Linked DNA regions of Homo sapiens: region 2 is linked to region 1. The links are contacts of gene promoters, found by promoter capture Hi-C in blood cells and fetal thymus (Javierre and others, 2016). All regions are on one chromosome and are shown on one strand. Each heading gives the region's core, a stretch centred on a gene start or on the middle of the fragment in contact. The rest is flanking DNA. Distances are from core to core; before and after follow the strand shown. Region 1 holds the start of BAZ2A (bromodomain adjacent to zinc finger domain 2A). Region 2 holds the start of ANKRD52 (ankyrin repeat domain 52).

What was found. Contacts are between HindIII fragments. The CHiCAGO score rates a contact against its expected background, and 5 or more counts as called.
Region 2: the fragment with the promoter of ANKRD52 here is called in contact with a fragment that was not itself captured in region 1 in 1 of 17 cell types (M1 macrophages); the score reaches 5.2 in M1 macrophages.

What each region holds. Positions count from the first base shown.
Region 1 is chr12:56,625,210-56,632,390 of GRCh38, forward strand. It overlaps BAZ2A (bromodomain adjacent to zinc finger domain 2A), which reads right to left and starts at 5,117. Exons shown (of 29, transcript NM_001300905.2): 1 at 4,916-5,117. RefSeq lists enhancers at 1,994-2,495, 5,274-5,323, 5,354-5,423 and a silencer at 4,704-5,053. The HindIII fragment of the contact is 1,831 bases long and covers 1,375-3,205 here.
Region 2 is chr12:56,253,618-56,260,367 of GRCh38, forward strand. ANKRD52 (ankyrin repeat domain 52) reads right to left here and starts at 4,767. Exons shown (of 28, transcript NM_173595.4): 1 at 4,626-4,767; 2 at 4,211-4,294; 3 at 3,666-3,744; 4 at 3,398-3,468; 5 at 2,167-2,367; 6 at 1,248-1,335; 7 at 961-1,103; 8 at 450-662; 9 at 105-183. The coding sequence starts at 4,652. RefSeq lists enhancers at 2,777-3,769, 4,076-4,125, 4,206-4,255 and silencers at 4,316-4,385, 4,406-4,955, 4,966-5,025. The HindIII fragment of the contact is 14,479 bases long and covers 1-6,750 here.

The DNA of each region.
Region 1 (7,181 bases), core at 1,040-3,539:
CAGTGGCACGATCTCTGCTCACTGCAACCTCCATCTCCCCGGTTCAAGCAATTCTCCTGCCTCAGCCTCCCAAGTAGCTGGGATTACAGGCGCCCACCATCACACCCGGCTAATTTTCATATTTTTAGTAGAGACAGGGTTTCACCATGTTGGTCAGGCTGGTCTTGAACTCCTGACTTCAGGTGATCCGCACGCCTCAGCCTCCCAAAGTGCTGCGACTGCAGGCTGAGCCACCGTGCCCAGCCAGAATTTAAACTCTAACAGTTAAGGACTCCACCCTTTCCACCCCCAAATATGAGCTAAGCAGGCAGGTTAAGGACCCCATTCATGAGGCAGGTTACAGAGTCCAACCTCAAAAGACTAAAAGTAGGAAGACCATCTATCTTTTAAAAACTTCTTGGCTCACGCCTGTAATCCCAGCACTTTGGGAGGCCGAGACGGGCGGATCATGAGGTCAGGAGATCGAGACCATCCTGGCTAACACGGTGAAACCCCGTCTCTACTAAAAATACAAAAATTAGCCGGGCATGGTGGCGCGCGCCTGTAGTCCCAGCTACACGGGAGGCTGAGGCAGGAGAATGGCGTGAACCCGGGAGGCGGAGCTTGCAGTGAGTCGAGATCGCGCCACTGCACTCCAGCCTGGGCGACACAGCGAAACTCCGTCTCAAAAAAAAAAAAAAAAAAAAAACAACAACAAAAAACTTCTTCCTTTCTTTGGTAAATTTTTGGCAAGATTACAGTATTTTAGTCTGCAAAATGCCCCCATAATAACTGTTCTCTTTAAAGAGGAGAAAAGACAAAACACTAAGCCAATGCTACTTTTACTGCTAGTGACAGTATCTTCAAAGTATCAGATATCTTCAAAGATGGGCTTTTTTGTTTTGCACAATTTTTTAAATTTCCAAATTAGGCAGACTGATAATAACAAGCTGGTGAAAAATAGTCCTACTGACCCACATGAGATAATACTGAGAAACTATTCATCTTGGGCTATATATAAGGCATATGAGGACACCAACATCCTAAGAAACAAACCAAGAAGGTTATTTACCCCAGGAATTATCTCAAATTTTATACTTGGCATTATTGCTGCTCTTGATACATCTTACACAAGGTCAAACATCATTATCAATGACTAACTTCTATACTGTTTCAGCAGTAAAAATAGCAGTTTGGTGCTTGACCTCTTCAGTGGTGACAAGAAAGGTCAACAGCAGGAAGACACTGTCAGTAACCCTAACAAGCTTTGCTTCTCTCCCAGTAATACTTGATTCCAGAGCCGCAAGACTACAAGATGAACCCTTCATTCTAGACTGGCTCTGGGGTCAGCCCATACAGCTCTCTTTACACCTCAGATTTTTTCTTTCATCGAGAAGCTTGAAATATTAAGAAATATATTTCTCTGACAGAAAAATGCACCCATTTTATAAGAAGGCCATGAAAGGTTTGCTTCATTCAGCTCCCAATTCAATCATGTATCAAATGAAATCACTATTTTCTCAAAATCAGCTTTTCTTTTAAAAGTCCAAAGACTCAAGAGTAGTTATCTCTCCTTTCTTTACTCTTTTAACCCCCAACAGGGAAAATCAACTTGCTGTTCTGTCAAGTGCCAATTCAGGTAAGCAAAGGCTGAAGAAAGGGGAACTTAAAATCAGCATCAAATCAACCCCATCAGACAGCAACTTAAAGGAACTAATCAGGGGCAAGAAAAAGGATGCTGACATCAGATGGACTTGTTTTTACTGTTTCCAGAATATCAAAAACCCCAACAGCCCCAGTGAGAAGAGCAATGATGCTGCTATCTTACTAGTGATGATGCCACTTTCACACAATCATAAGTGTCTATCTGCTCCCATACTGGATCTTTAATCTAGGGATCTTCATCTAGGTGGGAGGGGTTTTTGCCTGGAAAATAAATAGTGAAAAGATGATTTAAATGACAGGCTTACGTAGTTTTCAGAATAGTCCAAATAATCTGAAAATGTTATCTTTCAAGGCTTGGCCCTGTGGCTTATGCCTGTAACCCCAGCACTTTGGGAGGCTCAATTCGAGTTCGAGACCAGCCTGACCAACATGGTGAAACCCCTTCTCTACTAAAAATACAAAAATTAGCCAGGCATGGTGGCGCATGCCTGTAATTCCAGCTACTGGAGGGCTGAGGCAGGAGGATCGCTTGAACCTGGGAGGCGAGGGTTGCAGTGAGTCCAGATGGTGCCACCGTACTCCAGCCTGGGCAACAGAGCGAGACTCCATCTCAAAAAAAAAAAAAAAGAAAAAGAAAAAAACAAAACTTTATCTTTCAAAATCTAAAATCCTGTGGTCCTGGGGTCATAGGCCGGGCATGGTGGCTCATGCCTGTAATCTCAGTACTTTGGGAGGCTAAGGCAGGCAGGTCACTTGAGCCCAGGAGTTCAAGACCAGCCTGTGCAAACTGGCAAAACCCCACCTCTACAAAAATTACAAAAAATTAGCTGGATGTGGTGGTGCGTGTCTGTGGTCCCAGCTACTCAGGGGGCTGAGGTGGGAGGATCACTTGAGCCAAAGAGGTCGGGGCTGCAGTGAGCTATGATGGCGCCACTGCACTCCAGCCTGGGCATCGGAGTGAGACCCTGTCTCAAAAAAAAAAAAAAAGAAAGAAAGAAAGAGAAAAGAAAAGAGAGAGAGAAGAGAAAAAAAAGAAAAGAAGAGAAGACCAGGCATGGTGGCTCACACCTGTAATCCCTGCACTTTGGGAGGCCGAGGTGGGTAGATCACCTGAGGTCAGGAATTCGAGACCAGCCTGGCCAACATGATGAAACGCCGTCTCTACTAAAAATAAAATAATTAGCTGGATGCGGTGGCGGGCTCCTGTAATCCCAGCTACTCGGGAGGCTGAGACAGGCAACTCGCTTGAACCCGGGAGGCAGAGGTTGCAGTGAGACAAGATCACACCACTCCAGCCTGGGCGACAAAAGCAAAACTCCGTCTCAAAAAAAAAAAAAAAAAAAAAAGACAGAAAGAAAAAAAAAGAAAAGAAAAAGAAAAGAAAGAAAAATAAAATTCTGTGGCCAACTGTTGCCCCTAACCAAATCCAGTGTGCCACAAAATGCCTGGGGACATAGCACACAGTCCATCACTATATGTTACAGGAGAAATATCCTGGGATTATCAAGTGAAAAGAAAGAAAAAAAAAATCTGGGCACGACTTTGCAGGGAACAGAGGAAAAGCTTACCAATCTCCAAGAAGAATAAGAGGGGAGACGTTCTTTTATGGATTAAAGAGTAAGTCATATGATAACAAACTGTACTATTCTAATTAGTTGATTCTGCAGAAGGTAGTATCTCCAGCACCCCTTAGTCAAATAACAAGCTTCCCACAGGGGCTGCCCTTAGGCTAGAATCACCACCAAGGACTGAGTTCACCAATCTCAGTCTGTTAATCAGTCCCTACCCCCGACACACAAATCCATCTAATAGTTAAATCTTCCTCACCCCTTCCTCTTCGTCCATTTCTTAGAATCTACCCTTCTTCACAAGCTCACTTGCTCAGGTGCTCTGCAATATAGAAACTGTCATAATAACTATACTAAAGTAGGACCCCAAGAAGCTACTCGTGCCACAAAAGCTCTCTAGTCTCCCTGACAGCTCTCTATGCTGAGGGAATTTGCATCACTTACATAGAGCGTACCCCGCTGGTAGATAACTGAGTTTGCTTCTCTATGACCTCTAGCTAAAGGGAAAACAAAACGAAACCAGACAGGAAGACAGAGATGTTCTGGAGAAGGGATTGGGATACGTGAGTCAACTGAAGTTGACTACTTCCAGTTGACAAGTTTACAAAAAAAAAAAAAGTCCAACGAAAGGTCTCTCGGGCCACATGGTTGGCAAGATCCAAGCTTGCCCAGAAGGCTTCAGAAAATGAAACCAAATCTGATTAAAATGGACATTTCAAAACAACAAGACACGCAGCAGCAAACGCACAGCTGCCATTTCCCGGCCACTTCCTGCGGGAGGCTGGGGGAGGGGCTGTTTGTGTACAGATAGAGGTGGAAAGCTATCCCCTCCGTCGTCCCCCAAAGCAGACAAATCTCTCACTCCAATTAACCCTACAAAGGACAACTGCTATTGACATTGCCTTCTCCTGAAAACTGGGAACACCGGGAAAGAAAGGGATGATGCGGTATCATCTTTCTGCCACGGAAGCGGGGATCCCCTCAGTGAGGAATCTCCTTGGAAAAAGGAATTCCTCTTTATTCTTCCCTTCTGCCCCTCAGCCCAGCTCAAATTGGAAAGCCTCAGCGGAAGCCCTATCAACCTCCATCCCCGGAGTGCGCGATTCTCCCGGGACGCGAGGGCCCCAAGCCAAGCGCAGCACCACCCTCAGCAAGGAAGGCCCTCTCCTGATCTTCACGCTCAAGAGAATGGGTGCGCTCCCCGAGGGAGACACCCTCAGACCCCTGGAAACCCCTTCCGCCCTCCACTCACCACAGTCAAAACGCCCAGCTCCCCGCAAACGGAGCGTTTTAACCCGCCAAGGGAACCCCCTCACCCACCCCTCGCGCTCAGGCAATCCCCACCCCCACCCGAGGAGGTGGAGCCCCTCCCGGGGATTCCACCCCAAGTCCCCCACAGGAGTCATCTCCACCAGCCAGGCGGCTTCTCCGCCTCCTCACTGTCGCCGGGAGCCCCTACAGCTCCTCCTGCCCCCGCGGCCCCGTCCGGGGTCCTCAGCAGCCCCACCAGCCCTGTTCTCCTCCCAGACCCCAGAGCAAGGAGACCCTCGCCTCGGGTTGGATCCTCGCAGGAAATAAGCTCCCGTCGGCTTCCCGCCCCGGCAAGGCTCAAGCCGGCTCTGGAGCTTCTGTTCCCCGAGGGAAGCCTCGGATGAAAGCGGGGCTCCCTCCCCCTCAGGCCCCTGGCCACAGACCCCACAAACCTGAGGCAGCGGCGTCCAGCCGGGCTCGGGGCTCGTCTCTCCCCGGGGTACAAGCGGTTCACATGGCCGCGCTCCGGGCGCCAGAACGGGTGGAGACGCCCGCTGGGGAGGGGGTCTGGGGTCCGGGGTTCGGGAAGGGGGAGGGGGACGCGGCTCAACCGCGGGGCCCGAGAGGAGCCAACATGGCCGGCGGGGGAGGAGTGAGTCGGAGCCGGAGGGGGCGGAGAAGCCTCGGCCGGGAGAGAGTCTCCCCACGCGGCCTCCGCCACAGGGTCCTAAAGCCCGCCAGCCCATCTTTCCGACCCGGACCTGGGTCCTAGCGCCGCTGTGCCTCCTGCAACTCTGGCCACCTTGCCCACCTGGCAGCTCCCTCTGCACCCGCATCTCATGGAGGCAGTGGTCCTGCTTCACACAGGGCAAACTGAAAGGCATGCCACAGTCCCAAGGTTAACTTAAAAGACTAGACCAAACGTCTAGGCCCAAAGGCAGGTGCCACTTCTCTAACAGGCTGGTAGGGGTAAGAGTCAGGGGAATTTCGGGGGCAGTTATTTCCCAGGTAGGGTAATGGAAACGTGGAAATAGAAAGGTTAGTCACTCAGGTCGCGATTCAGTAAAGGGATGGGGAGAGGCAAGAGTCAGCCACCCACTCACCTCTGTCCCTTCAGTGCAGCCTGGTCCTGCCTGGATCACCACTTTCCTGGCGACATCTGCAGGGCCCTGGTCACCGGAAAGGAAAGATTCCTGTGCGTGGGGGAAAGAAGGTTCGGCTCTGGAACCAGACAGCAAAGACCTGAGTGTAGCCTAAATGCAGTCAGAGAAGTAAAGGATAAGCTGAAAACTAATCAGCAAAAAGATGCCACAAATGTCCACCCATTCTATGGTTCTGGGAATTTTTTTCTGACAGGGCTACATAACTGTGTGAAAACTCAGAAAAGTAAAATCTAGCAGAGGACTAGAGTTTGGCTGTCACCTAAAATGTCCACTGCAGGGCACCAGGATGAAGAACAGTGTCATATGATGTTAGAGCTTAGAGAATTTCTAGTTCAGGCCGGACGCGGTGGCTCACGGCTGTAATCCCAGCACTTTGGGAGGCCGAGGCAGGTGGATCATGATGTCAGGAGTTCAAGACCAGCCTGACCAACATGATGAAACCCGGTCTCTACTAAAAATACAAAAATTAGCTGGGTGTGGTGGCGTGCCCCTGTAATCTCAGCTACTCAGGAGGCCGAGGCAAGAGAATCGCTTGAACCTGGGAGGTGGAGGTTGCAGTGAACTGAGATCGCGCCATTGCACTCCAGCCTGGGTGACAGAGGGAGACTCTATCTCAAAAAAAAAAAAAAAAAAAAATTCTAGTTCAACCTTCTCTCCTTCATCAAATGAAGAAATTAAGACCCAAAGAGGTTCAATGACTTCTTCAATGTCAAACAGTGGATAAAATATGACAAGAAAGGAAACCAGGTTTCCTTTCCTTGCAACTCAACACTTTGCAGCCTTGAAGATAATTCCCATTTAATTCAATGCAATGCAGTTCTAGAAACAGTTGCCTAAACTGTGCAAAGCTCAGGCTGCTGAATATTCTGGAAAAGCAACAGAGTGGGGATGATGAAACTCTGGCAAGTTGGGGTGTCAACAAATACGTTTTCCTCTGGGGGTCTGAGGAGGAAAGAGATCTGAAAAATGGGCAGAGTTGGGGGGTGAGATCCATCAGTCTACATTGGATTTCCTTACTCCACAGAGGGGTGGGCTCTTCCTGAATTTTGGGGAAAGACTCCACCCCTCCACCCCCCCACTACAAATGGCTCAGAGAGGATAAGAAGGAAGCTAGCTTTAGCAAAGGCTCACAGAGTGTGTGGGCCACAGACACAGAAGGCTAAGGGGGTTTCTCTTCCTCTCTCGAGATAAGTAGATTACCAGTGGAGGGAATAGGCAGGTGGAAACCAAAACCCTTCTCTCCTCCCTGTCAAAACAACAGATTTACAGGTCACCTTGGGGAAAAAAAAATACTCCTCCAACAGCCTGCTGACCTCAAGTCCCTGAGTAAGTAGAGGTCACACTCAGGGTAGAGGTTTCCTTCCTTCTGGAGAAAGGAGGGCTCTGGCAAACTTCTGCTAAGAAATGCCTCTCTATCCCCAAATAAAAAATTAAGGCAGGTGAAGAAAGGCATAAAACTGAGGCCTCAAGGGCGGCGGGATGGGGGTGTGGGTAAGGAAGCTGGTATCCTTTTGTCTTCCCTGCCCTTTTCCAGAGCAGATGAGGGAGAATCTTC
Region 2 (6,750 bases), core at 3,517-6,016, 370 kb before region 1:
ACTGGAAGAGGGCAGGAGAAGGAAGTTAGGAACCTCCCTAGATTCTAGAAATGAGTTCCTTGGGGGAGGAGGGGATGAGAGCACAAAGTCTCCCAGGTCCATACCATTCTGGATGAGGATCTGGGAGCGTGTGAAACGGCCATGGATTGCAGCCATGTGCAGAGGACTTTTCCCTTCTTTGCTCTGTGGAAACATGGTGGGTTTTTGTTTTTGTTTTTTTTTCCAGTGCAAAGCACAGAGAATGCCCTACCTCCCTTCCAAGGACATATCTCTAAGGACAAAAGGGTCATATGGCACCTTCTTAGCCCACTCTTTCCTGAGTCCCTGGCAAGGTCTGATTACCCTAGGAAGCAAGTGGATAATTCCCCAAGAGAGCTATCCAGATACAGTCAGGACCCCTAGATCCAAGTTTCGCTCCCCACTGGTCTAAGCCTTATCCCTTCAGGCACCTGGTAGTTGACGTCAGCCCCATTATTAACCAGTAGCTCCAAGCAGAGAGCGCCATTGGTGGAGACTGCAGCCACATGCAGTGGCGTGAAGCCCTTGTCATTCGGCTGGTTGACATTGGCTCCGGCATTCACCAGCTCAATAGCCACAGCATCCTGGCCCAGGTAGCAGGCGATGTGCAAAGCTGTGTTTCCAAAAGCATTGGGTTCATCGATCTGGATATTCAGGGGTGAGAGTAAGGTGGTATCAGTTTAAACAAAGTAGAAGCCAGCACATGTAGCCTCCAGATCCCAGAAATCCAACGACTGCCTCATTTCCTCTCGGGTTTATGACCCAAGGTACTAAGGTACTAAGGGCACTATGGCTAAGGTAAGCATTATTCAGACCCTCTCTACCACGTCCTTCCAACTTCCCAAAACTATACCAACATCCCAATACCTCATATCTCCGTAACAGACTATAATCTCCTACTTGCTGCCCATAGTTCCCAACCCCAGAGCTCAAAGCCCTGACCTCCGCTCCCATCCGAAGCAGGTACTTCACCACTTCAATCTGGCCACTGGCAGCAGCTGTATGGAGCAGCCCATAGCCCTTGCGGTCCTTGCAGCCGAGGTCTGCTCCCCGTGCCACCAGCAGTTTTAGGACCTCCAAGTGCCCTGAGAAAAGAGAAGACACTCTAAAGGAAGTAGAAGGTAAACTCTAAGACCCTACACTCCTCTCTTCAAAGGCTGCAACCCCACATCCCTGCCCTAGGAATCCTAAATGTCAAATTTCTGATTTTCCCGTGTATTCTCTCTCACCTAGAAAAGCTGCCCAATGCAGAGGCTGCCGCTCCTTTTTGTCACAGACATTCAGGCTGGCTCCCTTGTTGAGGAGCAGGTTCACCGTCTGCATCAGGATATGAAAGACACCTGTTCAGAGCTAGATTCGTGCCCTCAACCTACCTAAGAGCAGAGGCCTCATCTCCTGAAAAGGCTGAGGCAGCCTAATGCCTTTTTCCATGAGCAAAACAACCTGGAGGACTCGAGGGAACAGCAGAAGCAGGCACTAAGGAGGAGATACTGGAGAGATTTGGAACTTTAAGGGAAACAAGAGAGTCTCTTCAGGTGATCTGGTGGTTCTTAAACTCTTTTTTTTTTTTTTTTTGAGACAGTCTCGCTCTGTTACCCAGGCTGGAGTTCAGTGGCATGATTTCGGCTCATTGCAAGCTCCGCCTCCCGGGTTCACGCCATTCTCCTGCCTCAGTCTCCCGAGTAGCTGGGACTACAGGCGGCCGCCACCACACCCGGCTAATTTTTTGTATTTTTAGTAGAGACAGGGTTTCACCATGTTAGCCAGGATGATCTCGATCTCCTGATCTCATGATCCACCCGCCTTCGCCTCCCAAAGTGCTGGGATTACAGGCGTGAGCCGCCGTGCCCGGCCGGTTCTTAAACTCTTGTAAGTCTTTGCAAATGTGCTGAAAGACATGGACTCTCTTCAGAAAGGCGTGTATGCAAATATTTTCCACGCAAAATCCAAGGTTTTATCAACCTCCTGAAGTCCAAGTTAAGAATTTTAATCTAGTCTGACCATTCATTTAGTGCTTCAGCTTAAGTGTTTATATAACCATCCGGGCTGCTTCTCCTTCAGGCTTGAGGGCCCAGAAGCAGGGAAACGTGAGTAGGAAGGTAAGAAAAGGGAAAGCCCCAGCTGGGCCTGGATGGGAACAGTCCTCACCTCAAGATGCCCACTATGCACTGCATGGTGCAGAGCACTGCGCCCGCTCCTGTCAGCCACGTTGAGGCTGCTCAACAGGGGTGCCAGAGCCTCAGCACACTTGGTGGCCCGGTTGGCAGCAGCCACATGCAGTGGTGTCTGCCACAGCTTGTCCCGGGCATTCACATCTGCTGAATGTGCCAGCAGCAGCCCCAGCACCTTCTGTTGAGGGGCAGGGGACAAAAGAGAGAGTGGGAGCAGGAGGTAAAACAACAGGAAATGGAAGGAGGAATAGGTCAGCATAGCATCTACAGCCCCTTCCCCAGCACAGAATCTCTTCTCATTTTTCCAACATACCTAGCCTCTGAATACCTACTTTCCATCTTCTGGATCTTCTTAGAACTTAAGCTCTTCCTTACCTTGCTGATTAAAACAAGGACCCTTTGCTCTTCTTCAAGCCACCTGACTCGCCAACTTAGACCCTGAAAATCTTCACTCACACATACATCCATTCCCAAACAAATCCACATGTGGAGATCCACACATCCCAACCCCCTACTACTTCTAGGAAAACTAAATGCTCTTGCTACATCTTGCCCTGAACACCCTCTTTAGCCTTCTCATAGGCACCAAAATTATTTTCAGTATCTCAGTAAGCAAACAGATACTGGTTCGTTTGCAAAACCCGAGCTAAAATGCCCCTCCTAACCACCACCCACCTCATTCCCACTGGCCTCGGCCCCTCCCCCTGGTGGCTGGAGCCAGGGAAGTGATGAACTGAGGAGGAGGTCCCCCTTTCCCTGTCTTCAGGGCTGATGGGAATAGGATAAAGGACCCAACTGATGAAATATGTTTGGCCCCTGTGCTGTCAACTTTCAAGCTGCTTGAGGGCCAAGGATGCAACAGATTACTATACCCATCCTCCATCACAAGGAAAAGAAATCTCAGTGCCCAGAGGGGGATCAGACTCAAGGTGGCCCCCCAGGGAGGGATGAGTCACTCAGGCCTGGCAGCAGGGCCCCCGCAGTCTGCCAGCCCAGTGTTAAGCTCTTCCTGAGTCACATCAGCTGGCAGCACTCAACCCCCTTACTGGCCAGTTCTAGGGGTAGGAGGAAGGGGCCAAGATTTGATCTCCTCACTACCTGGGGTAGAACAGCTTGTAGGGCTGAGGACTGAGGCTCCTTAACCCTTAACCCCCACCTTTAAGCAACTTATCCTTTTTGAAAGGGTAATAGAAGGTGGGGGTGCATACCTCGTTTCGGGAGGCAGCAGCACGATGAAGAGGGGTCAGCCACAGTGTGTCCTTAGCATTGACATTAGCACCTGTGGGGATATAATTTCCTATTTTGATGGAAGGTGGGGAGGAGGTATGAAGGAAGCCAGTAATCAGGCCAGGAAATCTGAATGGAGCTGGAGCCTCGCCTGGACCAAGCCGGGGAGAGCAATCCTTGAATATCAAAAAAGACTCCTCCCCTCCCTTCGCTCCCTATGTGCCACACCTTCCAGCTCCCCACTTTCACCTGACATCAGTAGCAACTGGAGGATGGGGACATCGCCTACGTAGGCAGCAGCATGCAATGGAGTTCGCCTCTCTTGGTCCTGGGAAGGCAAAAAAGAGCAGGGAGTATGGGCGCGGGGTAAGGGGGCTATCAAGGACCCCAGCCCAAGTCTCAGAGCTCCAGGCCCTTCCCCACAACCTCTTCCCATAGTTTCTGCAGCGTCCTAAGTCCCGGTATTGGGAGTCAAAGGCAAGCACCTAGGGAGGGTGGAGTCAGGGCCAATGGGCTGAGAAGCCGGCTCCTTTTTCCAGGAGGGGTGGGGGCGCTGCAGACTCCGGAGGTTGAGAAGAGAACAACGTTCCTGGGCATTCCCAGCCCAAGTGATCTGGGCTTCAAGCCTGACCTGCTCTCCATCCCCAAATGCAGAGTAGGCTTTCACTCCAGGATGGAAAGAACTGCGGCCTCATCTGAGCAGAGGAGACACGGAGCCGCCCCACCGGTGGGGAGGGGTCCAGAACACGGGAGCCAGGATTCCGGTCTCGCCATCCTCCCTGCTCCCAACTCACCAGCACATTGATGTTCTCCTTCTGCGAGAGTAGGGAACGCACTTCCTCCACATCTCGGCTAAAGATGGCCTGGACCAGGGGCGGCTGCAGAGAGAACCGGCATTCTGAGAGCGGGCTGGAGCCGGAGCGGAACCGGTGTGGGGGTGGGGGTGGGGGAGCACCTAGGTTTGAGTGGGGGGCGTCCGTGGAGGGGCTCCACTCTAGGGATTCTGGCTGGAGCGAGCTCCCGCGGTGCCTCCGCCGGTTGCCAGGTCCCCAAGGACACCGGCTCGGTTGAGGGGAGCGCGGCATGGGGCGGGGCGGGAGCTGCGGGAGCCCCGGGCTCAGGCCCAGCCTAGGCCGCACATCCCCGGGCTCGCGTGACGGCAGCGCCGAGCCCTGGAAGGAGGAAGCGGGAAAGGGCAGGAGGGCTGACCTGGTCCGTGATGCTGAGGATCCCCATGGCTCGGCCCGGGCTCCGTCCGCATCGAGCTCCCGGCGGCGGCGGCGGCGGCTCCACCGGGGACACGGAGCGGCCCAGGCGGCGGCTGCGGTGGCGGCTGCAGGGAGAGCGCGGCCCCGCCTACCGGGGGGCGGGCGAGTTGGAGGCCGCAGCGCTCCCTGGCGGCCGTCCTGGTCCCGGCGCTCCCCGCGCAAACGGACCCCGGCCGCAGCGCCCTCCGCCCCACCCTGGCGGCCCCAGCAGCCCCTGCACCCCCGAACTCGCGCGCCGGCTCCCCGGCTCACGCAGCTGGCCGCGCTGTGCTCTCCGCTCCAGTCTGGCGGCCCAAGGGGTTCCCCACAAGACCCTAGCGGAAACCTGGGCCTTAGTCCCGCGGTGCTTCCCAAACTGAGGACCGAACGGCTGGCCAGATCTTACCCAGCCCACAATGCTCCCGCCCGAGCTAACTCCTCCCGTCAGCGATTCCACACCCCGAAATCCCCCACAGACTAGGAGGAACTGGCGGGTGGAGAACTGGGAATTATGTATGGCAATAGCCCCAGAGGGAGGGAAAGCGTGTATCTCCACTGGCGGAGGCGTGAGTTCGGTAGAGAAGAAATAGCAAAAGTGCTCAAACTGCAGAGAAACCCCAAGGAGGATTCTACTGCAGAAAACACCCACAAAGAGGCCATGACAACTGGCAGCTGGAAAAGGCCGCCAAGACCAACAGAAGGGGCATTTTCCAACTCCTTACTGATTCCATTGCAAGGTTAAAGTGGAAAACACTCAACAATTTCTCCCCAGAACAGCCTGTGGCGCTTCCCCTCCTCCAATGGAGAGGCCAGAGAGCCGTCAATTAGAGAAGAAATGAATGGAGGTCATCTCAACCCAGAAACGGAAAAAGGAGGAAGACGAAAAGTGGAGATTGAAAAATTGATACAATTTATAAAAGGTGATCCAGGGTCCTGTTCAGAGTTTCACAACTCAATACACATTGAAGAGAACACGAAATGGACGAAGTGCAGCATGCTGGCGTCCTGTCAAGGCTTTATATATAAAAATCCTCCCTTGAGGGGAGAGGAAAAAAATTAAAAAATAAAAATACATTTTATTTTATTTTTTGAGATGGAGTTTCACTCTCGTCCCCCAGGCTGGAGTGCAGTGGCACGATCTCGGCTCACTGCAACCTCCGCCTCCCGGGTTCAGTGATTATCCTGTCTCAGACTACCAAGTAGCTGAGACTACAGGCGCCCGCCACCCTGCCCGGCTAATTTTTTATTTTAGTAGAGACGGGGGTTTCACCATGTTGGTCAGGCTGGTCTCGAACTCCTGACCTCAGGTGATCCACCTGCCACGGCATCCCAAAGAGCTGGGATTACCGGCGTGAGCCACCGCACCCGGCGAAAATACATTTCAAAAAAGCCTTCCCGGCCGGGCGCGGTGGCTCACGCCTGTAATCCCAGCACTTTGGGAGTCCGAGGCGGGTGGATCACGAGGTCAGGAGATCGAGACCATCCTGGCTAACACAGCGAAACCCCGTCTCTACTAAAATACAAAAATCAGCCGGGCAGGGTGGCGGGCGCCTGTAGTCCCAGCTGCTTGGGAGGCTGAGGCAGGAGAATGGCGTGAACCCGGGAGGTGGAGCTTGCAGTGAGCCGAGATTGCGCCACTGCACTCCAGCCTGGGCGACAGAGCGAGACTCCGTCTCAAAAAAAAAAAAAAAAAAAAAAAAAAAAAGCCTTCCCATTCCCAACATGGTGAAACCCCATCTCTACCAAAAATATAAAAAAGTAGCCTGGTGTGGTGGTGCACGCCTGTAATCCCAGCTACTGGAGAGGCTGAGGCAGGAGAATCACTTGAACCAAGGAGGCGGAGGTTGCAGTGAGCCGAGATGGAGCCACTGCTCTCCAGCCTGGGTGACAGAGCCAGACTCCATGTCAAAAAAAAAAAAAAAAAAAAAAAGCCTTCCCTTGCTTTCCTGCTAGAAAGATACTTAAGACACTAGTAACAGTCCTTTTTTCCCAGAAAGAAAAACTGGGGTACAGGAAATAAGGAATGAGAGAGAAATTTACCTATCACTATATACCTTTTGGAATTTTTTAAATTTTTACCATATTGA